Regions from separate parts of the Homo sapiens genome. Here region 2 is linked to region 1. The links are contacts of gene promoters, found by promoter capture Hi-C in blood cells and fetal thymus (Javierre and others, 2016). All regions are on one chromosome and are shown on one strand. Each heading gives the region's core, a stretch centred on a gene start or on the middle of the fragment in contact. The rest is flanking DNA. Distances are from core to core; before and after follow the strand shown.

The links. Contacts are between HindIII fragments. The CHiCAGO score rates a contact against its expected background, and 5 or more counts as called.
Region 2: a fragment that was not itself captured here is called in contact with the fragment with the promoter of SASH3 in region 1 in 2 of 17 cell types (non-activated CD4 T cells and activated CD4 T cells); the score reaches 10.1 in non-activated CD4 T cells.

What each region holds. Positions count from the first base shown.
Region 1 is chrX:129,777,796-129,782,147 of GRCh38, reverse strand. It overlaps SASH3 (SAM and SH3 domain containing 3), which reads right to left and starts at 2,199. Exons shown (of 8, transcript NM_018990.4): 1 at 1,994-2,199. The coding sequence starts at 2,050. It overlaps LOC124905215 (a long non-coding RNA gene), which reads left to right. Exons shown (of 2, transcript XR_007068328.1): 2 at 1,869-3,573. RefSeq lists enhancers at 242-291, 402-581, 1,849-1,908, 1,959-2,038, 2,289-2,448. The HindIII fragment of the contact is 655 bases long and covers 1,656-2,310 here.
Region 2 is chrX:119,676,040-119,680,391 of GRCh38, reverse strand. All of the region lies in intron 1 of SEPTIN6 (septin 6), which reads left to right. Among named protein-coding and RNA genes, the nearest start is that of SEPTIN6, 15 kb to the left of the region's middle. RefSeq lists a silencer at 2,171-2,290 and an enhancer at 2,229-2,729. The HindIII fragment of the contact is 1,353 bases long and covers 1,542-2,894 here.

The DNA.
Region 1 (4,352 bases), core at 950-3,449:
CAAGGTCCTACAGCTAGAGCGTGGTAGGATTCCAGCTCAGCTTTCTTGCCCCCTGTCTGGCACATTCTCCATTGGCAGGCCCAAGAGGAGAAGCAGGGGCAGGAGAAAGAGGCCTCTCTTGCCTTTGTGCTTTCCTCTCCACCACGTCATCTCAGCCTCTGAGAAGAAGGGACTAGCAGTGATTCAGCCAGCCCGCTGCCTCTGGGCCTGGGGAAGATGCTCTGTACCTTCTGGAAGCTTGGCTTCTGGGGGACATTTCCATAGTCTGGGGCTAGCAGAGTGTGTGGAGGCAAGCTCATCCCAGCTCTGGAGGCTGGCACCGGCTCTGGCAGGGGTTGGGGTGGGGTTTGCCTGGACTACTCTCCCCGAAAGGACCCCTTCTCCTGGGAGAGACCTGGGGAAATCCCAGGGGCCCACTTGCCTGCCGAACACAGAATCTGGGTAATTGAAGCTGGGAAAGAAAAAGGGGACTTCTGGCTTCTGTGTGCCCCTAGGTACGTCTTCCTGATGTGGCACAGGGTCCCAGTGTCAAAGTGTCAGCTCTTTCTCACACTTTCCTCCAGCTCAGCGCCCCTGTGGTTTGAGGCCTAGCAGTGTCTATAGAGCAATCTCTGTTTCCCACCCCCACCAGCCAGAGAGCAAGGGGAAGTGGCCCTGCTCTCTTAGGAGTGGCAGCCAATGGCAGTCCTGCTGGGCCTAGCACCCTGCAGGGTTTGGACGGGGATGACAGAGCCCGTGTGAAGATTCATGAACCTCCCCCCTCCCCCGCCCACCACCACTGCAACCTTAGAGAAGCAGCTGGGGTGGGGAGAATACAGCCGGAAGTGGCAGCCACCCCAGGACCTGAGAGCTGGGGCAGGATGCACACCCCACTGCCCCGAGTCTCAGTCTTTCAGCTGCCTTGGCCTCCATCTCTGAGCTACTCCCCTGACAAGGGGGATCCACCATAGGGCACCTGGGCTGAGTTCCAGGGAAAATTGGCGGGGGATAGCCTGGGCCTCTTGGACCTAGTTCAGGCCTGCTTTGGGACTGTCCTAGCATCCCATTGGATGTGTAGGATATACTTGCTGATTGTCTGGGAGAATCCTTCAATTGAATTAAAGAATTAGGTCTAGAAATCCTCAAACCCAACCAAAGAAATCTGGAAATCCTCAAATTCAACCACAAAATCCTAGATCTGGCACAGCCTTCAAGGATTCTTCCAGTCCGGTCTCTGCCCCAGGGGGATGAACACCTCAGCCATCCATGACAGCTGTTTTTCCTCCTGGCCTTTAAAATCCTCCCTCCTCAGCCTTCACTCCTACTCACCACCTCAACTTAATTTCTCATTCCCCACCCAGGAAGAACCTGTATGCCCCCTGCATCCCACTGCACTTCCGGATGCCTTTTCCCCCAAGACTGGAATGGCCTCAGGCCCCCATCTCCAGGTTGGCTCCATCTCGGGTAGGGCCTGGGAGCTACCACAGAGCTGAGCCAAGTGGGCAGGGTCTGGGCCATGGCCAAAGTGGAGGAGGGGGTGGCAGTCCTGTGAGCATCATGGCTCCAAGCTGGGCAGCCCAGCAGGGCCCTTTGAGTGAGATGGCTCCTGAGAGGCCGTGGCCGGGGCAGAAGTGGCAGCAGGACCAGCGTAGAGGAGAGATAGTTAAGTACAAGCTTAGGGTTCAGCTTAAGCATTGTATTTTGTTATTCTCAAATTCTAGTCTAAGATTCTGGCCCCTAATTTTAGATCTTTTTTCCCATTCTTCTAGGGTTGAATTGCATGACTCTAGATTTCTAAGGATCTATTCTGTAACTCTGTTGCTCCAGAATTTTAAACATCTCTTCTGTACTTCTGTTAACCTTTGGGTCCCTGTCCCGTTGCCTTCTAGGTGAGTGGCCCTCACCTACAGACTCAACATATGGCCTTTGGCTCTTCCCACTTCCAAGAGTCTTGGAAGGGATGGGTCGAGCAAGCAGAGGAAAGGAAGATGTGAGTTCCCAAAATGCTCCTCACCTTTTTCTTCTGAGTGGGCTCCTTCTCACTGGCATTGGAGGGCTTGCGGCGCAGCATGGTCCTCCACCCTGGGAGACTCCGTCCCTGCTCTCCTAGGTGTCAAGATGCAGAGGCCTCTTGCTTAGCCTCACCAGAACTGCCCGGGGGCACGGCATGAACCGAGCCTTCAGCTGCCACTCTGACTGCTGCAGTGGCAGCTTGGGGGTGCGGGCCATGGACACCCGGCAGCAGCAGCATACAGGAAGCCCTGCCACGTGACCTACTCTTACAGCAATCGCAGCCCCTGCCGGCCCCTAGGGAGGAAGGAAGTCCAAGCTTCAGTCTCCAGAGATTCTGATGCAGACGGCTCTTGGGTTGAACAGTCAGAGAAAGTCCCTACCTTGTTGTCTCATGTCGATCATCATCAGTCCTTCTGCTCCATCTTCCTAGAGGTGGACAATCAGCTCGACATTATATGGCGTACCCAAGCCCTTTATCTCACTGACCAGAATCCAGAAACCAGAAGTTGGACCATCTGGCTGCCTGTTGGATCAATGCTCCCGGTCAACTCACGTCTTCAAGGTCGTCACTGCCATCACTACCACTACCATCACCCCTGTGACCATCACCACTGCTACCATCACTCCTATCAATAGCCATCACCATACAGCCATCACCCCTACAGCCATCAGGCCTGCAGCCATCCCCGCTGCCATCAGCACACCTATAGCCATTGTCACTATGGTAATCACCTCTACAGTTGACATCCTTCAGCCATCACCTCTACAGTCATCACCATTGCTGCTATCACCCTTCCAGCCATCATCCTTACAGCTGTCACCCTTCTGGACATTACAGCCAACCGCACTCATGACCCTCTCACCCCTATAACCATCGTCCCTACAGTCATCTCTCCTACAACCATCATCACATCCGTGCAGCCATCAGCCCTGCAGCCATCACTCCTACAGCCATCAGTACACCTAAAGCCATCATCACTAGAGCAGTCACCCCTCCAGTCAGTACCCCTCAGCCATCATGAGTATATTTATCACCACCACAGCTGAAAAGCACTTACAGCCAACTCCACACCTCTAGCAAGTATCCAACAGGCATTTATCAAACACCTATGCAGTATATTCAATTTGTGGGTTGTCTGTGGCAGATTTTAATAACTTTAATAACTTCTTGGTATTACAAAAGCAACTTGTATTTGTCATACAATTTCACAAACACATAAACAAAAAAAATTTCAAAATTTCCCATCATTGTCCTCTACACTGTTTTAAGCATCTATCTACTCTCTGTCTATAAACATTTTTTTTCTTTTTACAAAAATCATACTGCTCAGAAAACAGATAATTGGTTTGGGGAGAAGGGGAGGGGAGAGAAGGGAAGGGAGACATCACACAGGGTAACAGGAAGCTTTTAGGAGTGATGAATATGTTCACTATCTTGACTGTGGTGATGATTTCATGGGGGAATACACATGTCAAAACGTATCAAATTGTATACTTCAAATATGTGCAGTTTATTGTAGCTCCATTATACCTCAATAAAGCTGTTTAAAATTTTTTAATTAAAAAAGGTCATAATTCACACTATTGGTGTCTGCTTTTCACACTAAACACAGTATCTTTTTTGTTTTTTTTTCGAGATGGAGTCTCTCACTCTGTCTCCCAGGCTGGAGTGCAGTGGCGTGATCTCGGCTCACTGCAACCTCCACCTCCTGAGTTCAAGCAATTCTTGTGCCTCTGCCTCCCAAGTAGCTGGGACTATAGGTGCGTACCACCACCCTGGTTAATTTTTGTATTTTTTGTAGAGACAGGGTTTCACCATGTTGCCCAGGCTGGTCTTGAACTCCTGGTCTCAAGTGACCTCTTTGCCTCATCCTCCCAAAGTGCTGGGATTACAGGCGTGAGCCACTACGTCCAGCTGAACACAGTATCAAGATTGTCTCATGCTATGAAATAGTCTTCAACTACGTAATTTATAACGGCTGTGGAACATCCCATTGTGTGGATGTGCCGTGCTTATTTCACCAAGCCCTTGCTGATGAACTTGGGTTGGCTTAAATTTTTAAATTATTCATTGAACATACTTATGGTAAATATTCACATCCATAGTTTTTTTTCTGTAGGGGAAATATCCAGAAGAGGAATTGCTGGGGTCAAAGGTATGCACATTTTTAAGGCTTTCAATTCTGTGGTACTTGTGAAATACTAGGCTTGTCCACCCCTGTTCCCAAGATGTTCTCGTGACTTCCTCTCCGATTCTGCTTTATGCCCTCTGACCATCCAACCTTCAGGGTGAGCTCAGGGAAGATAAGATCTTTCTTCCCTAAGCTGAAACCATACATTCTTTGGCCTACTCAGTCGGC
Region 2 (4,352 bases), core at 969-3,468, about 10 Mb after region 1:
ACTAAAAATACAAAAATTACCTGGGCGTGGTGGTGCACACCTGTAGTCCCAGCTACTCCGGAGGCTGAGGCAGGAGAATCGCTTGAACCCATGGGCCGAGATTGTGCCACTGCACTCCAGCCTGGACAACAAGAGAGAAACTCCATCTCTAATAAATAAATAAATAAATAAATAAATAAATAAATAAATAAATAAAATTAAGAGTGTTTATCTCTGGAGAGTGATATTATGGTTGATTTTGATTTTCTTCTTTATTATTATCTGTATGTTCTAAAATTTCTACAGTGAACATTGATTACTTCCACAAAATAAAAAATCTGATAAATGTAATTTTTTTAGTAACAGCTAATTTAAAATCAGTCTCCTCATCGTCCCCATTAAACAGGCATCTTTTCCTGGCTTTCCTATGTGTCTCCATGGTGCTGTCAATCCAAGCTCCCGGGCTTAGACCCTTGCGATTGTTCTCTCTGCCCAATCACTCCTTGAGGCTCATCCCTTCTTTTTTAATTAATTAATGTATTTATTTTTGAGACGGAGTCTCTCTCTGTCCCCCAGGCTGGCTGGAGTGCAGTGGCGCAATCTCGGCTCACTGCAAACTCCGCCTCCTGGGTTCAAGTGATTCTCCTGCCTCTCAGCCTCCTGAGTGGCTGGGATTACAGGCTCCCGCCACCACGCCCGGCTAATTTTTGTATTTTTAGTAGAGATGGGGTTTCACCATGTTGGCCAGGCTGGTTTTGAACTCCTGACCTCGTGATCCGCCTGCCTCAGCCTCCCAAAGTGCTGGGATTACAGGCGTGAGCCACTGCTCCCGGCAGAGGCTCATCCCTTCTTAAGACATCTCTCAAATTTGTTCCTTCTCTTTGAGTCCCAAGTCAGGTCAGTTCACACCAACCAGCATTTATTGTCACAGTGCCTGGATGTCACTCTGCTGGCTCAACATTATTGGAGTCATCTCCTCCTATGTCTTCCTGCTCCTAGTCTCTCTGTCCATCCAATCAAGCAAACACCCTGCAGCTGGAGTGATCTTTTAAAAACACTCCCTGTATCATGGCCCTCCCTGCTCAAATCACTCAAAATCCCCCAAATCCCATTGCTTAGGAAATGAAGTCCATACTTCTGCTTCTTAGGGCTTAAAAAATTATTTCTTTTGGGCCAGGCATGGTGGCTCATGCCTGTAATCCCAGCACTTTGGGAGGCCAAGGTGGGTGGATCACCTGAGGTCAGTAGTTCAAGACCAGCCTGGCCAACATGGCAAAACCCCATCTCTACTAAAATATACAAAAAATTAGCCGGGTGCGGTGGTGGGCACCCAGCTACTCGGGAGGCTGAGGCAGGAGAATCGCTTGAACCTGGGAGGCGGAAGTTGCAGTGAGCTGAGATCGCGCCACTGCACTCTAGCCTGGGAGACAGGGAGAGACTCCTTATCAAAAAAAAAGGAAAGAAAAGAAAATTTTTTCTTCTGCCGTTTAGGGCTCTTTACAGCACTGTCTTCAGTTTGAAAATTCATTTCCTCTCCTTTTGACTTTGGAGCACTTGAAGCTTCATGGTGCTGAATTTGTTGGAGGCCGGAAGAGGCAGCCAGGGGTGATAACAAATGGCTCAGGAAACCTCAACTCTGAGTCCACCTCAATTTCCGATGCCTGCTACATCGGAGGCTCCGTAAAGAAAGCATATCAGTTCTCATGTCCCTGACTCCCCTGCAGCGTTGCGGACCAAGAACTAGCAGTGGGAATCTTGCATCTTACTTTGTTTGCTTTAATAAAGAGAAGGGGAAATGAGAAGGAGAAGCAGAAAGGGGTGAACGTAGAACAAAGCCTTGAGTGATGTGAACCACTCATGAGGCTCAGCTGTCTTTATTTATTTTTTTTTTTTTGAGACGGAGTCTCGCTCTGTCGCCCAGGCTGGGTGCAGTGGCGCGATCTCGGCTCACTGCAAGCTCAGCCTCCCAGGTTCACGCCATTCTCCTGCCTCAGCCTCCTGAGTAGCTGGGACTACAGGCGCCCGCCACCACGCCCGGCTAATTTTTTGTATTTTTAGTAGAGACGGGGTTTCACCGTGTTAGCCAGGATGGTCTCCATCTCCTGACCTCGTGATCCGCCCACCTCGGCCTCCCAAAGTGCTGAGATTACAGGCATGAGCCACCGCGCCCGGCCGAGACAGTGTCTTGCTCTGTTACCCAGGCTGGAGTGCAATGGCGAGATCATGGCTCACTGCAGCCTCGACCTCCTGGGCTCAGGTGATCCTCCCACCTCAGCCTGCTGAGTAGCTGAGACCACAGGCTCACGACACCATGCCCGGCTCATTTTTGTATTTTTCTTGTTGTTGAGATGGGGTTTTGCCATTGTTGCTCAGTCTGGTCTCAAACTCCTGGGCTCAAGAGATCCGCCCACTTCGGCCTCCCCAAGTGCTGCGATTGCAGGTGCGAGCCACTGCACCCAGCCTCAGGTGTCTTCAGGGGACCCCCTGGGGCAGAGAATACACCAACTCTCACTGAATGATGGCATATGGTTGTCTGTTAAGAGTTCTCCACTGGGAGGGTGTGGGGTGAGATGTGTGAGGGTAATGAACTTGCCACATGGCATTCACCGGCACTAGCCCTGTCGCTTGCCCTCACAGGATCTAGTGACACCGATGGGAGTGAGATCTAAAGCTGTGTGAAGGGGCTATCTGGGAGCCGGTTCTGACAAAGTTGGCTGCTGAGAGGCTCCACCACCCTCACACCCCACCCCTTTCAGTGTGAAAATGTGCCCTTATTATGGACCTAGTCTAAAAGGTGGTCCAGCCCAACAGAAGAGCTGCCTGCTTAGTGCAGCCTGTGATGCTGGGCTGGGCCTCCTGGCACTAACCGTGCCCTTCTTGGACTGCTCTTGGCATCTTTCTAGTTATGGAAAGCTTGGTGCAGCCCCACCCAACAGAAACTGACTCCTTACATAGTACTCCCTTCTTGTCTAGCTCAGCTGTCTCAAGCTCCCTTCTCCCCTGTCCCCTCCCCTCCCCTGTGGCCGTTGGTTGGTATTTGGCACATTTCTTGAGTCCACGCTCCACGCAGGCCCCTTTTATGCTTCCCCCTGGCTCCTTGGAATCCTGTTCCAGTTTGAGTCTCCTCCTGTTTTGTAAAATCATTAACTATAAGCAGCTTTGGGCCTTGCAGGCGAAGCAAAGGCCCTCTGCTTTCCAGGGCTGGGAGTGGCTTGGCTGACCCTTAGGGAGTCAAGGGACCCAGAGGAAGCACGGAGGCAGCTTCTTGTAGCCATAGGGAGCCACAGTGTTCCATGCAGTACCCTTCAGGCTGGGGGTGTAAGGATAACCCCACAGTGAATAACAACAGCAGCTACTGCTGATTGAATGCTCACCACATGCTAGGCACTACGCTAAGGGCTTGAGGAGCATGATCCTGTATAATCCTCACACTCCTACTCAATAGTTTCCGATTTTATGGATGGGGAAAACTTAAGAAGTTTATGTAACTTGTCTGAGGGTGACACAGCCAGGAGATGGTGGAGATGGGGCTGTAACTAACACCTGCCAGATTTCAAAGCCTCTACTCTTAACCTCTACACTACACTGCCTTTGTAGGTCCTCAAAATGCTCTAGAGAGAGAGGAACAATTGCTTTTTTTTTAAGACAGGATCTTGCTCTCTCACCTGGGCGGGAGTGCAGTGGTGCCATCATAGCGCACTGCAGCCTCTACCTCCTGGACACAAGCAATCCTCCCGCCTCAGCCTCCCAAGTAGCTGGGACTACACAGGCACATGCCACCATGCCCAGCTAATTTTTGATTTTTTGTAGAGATGTTGTCTCACTGTGTTGCCCAGGCTGGTCTCAAACTCTTGGCCTCAAGTGATCCACCCACCTTGGCCTCCCAAAGTGTTGGGATTACAGGTGTGAGACATTTCGCCAGCCAATAATTGATTTTTTTTTTTTTTTGAGACAGAGTTTCGCTCTTATTGCCCAGGCTGTAGTGCAGTGGCGTGATCTCGGCTCACTGCAGCCTACACCTCCCGGGTTCAAGCAATTCTCCTGCCTCAGTCTCCCAAGTAGCTGGGATTATAGGCACCCACCACCATGCCTGGCTAATTTTTGTTTTTTTTGGTAGAGACAGGGTTTCGCCACGTTGGCCAGGCTGGTGTTGAACTCCTGACCTCAAGTGATCCCCCCCGCCTTGGCCTCCCAAAGTGCTGGGATTACAGGTGTGAGCCACTGAACCCGGCCCAATAATTGCTTTTTAAACCCTTTTCGTAATACTTACTGAATACTTCTGCATATACTAAGCTCGTTACATGTATTAGCGTTTCTGAGGCTCCCAGTCACCTCTAAGATATGCCATATTATCTCAGATGGCAGATGTGGAA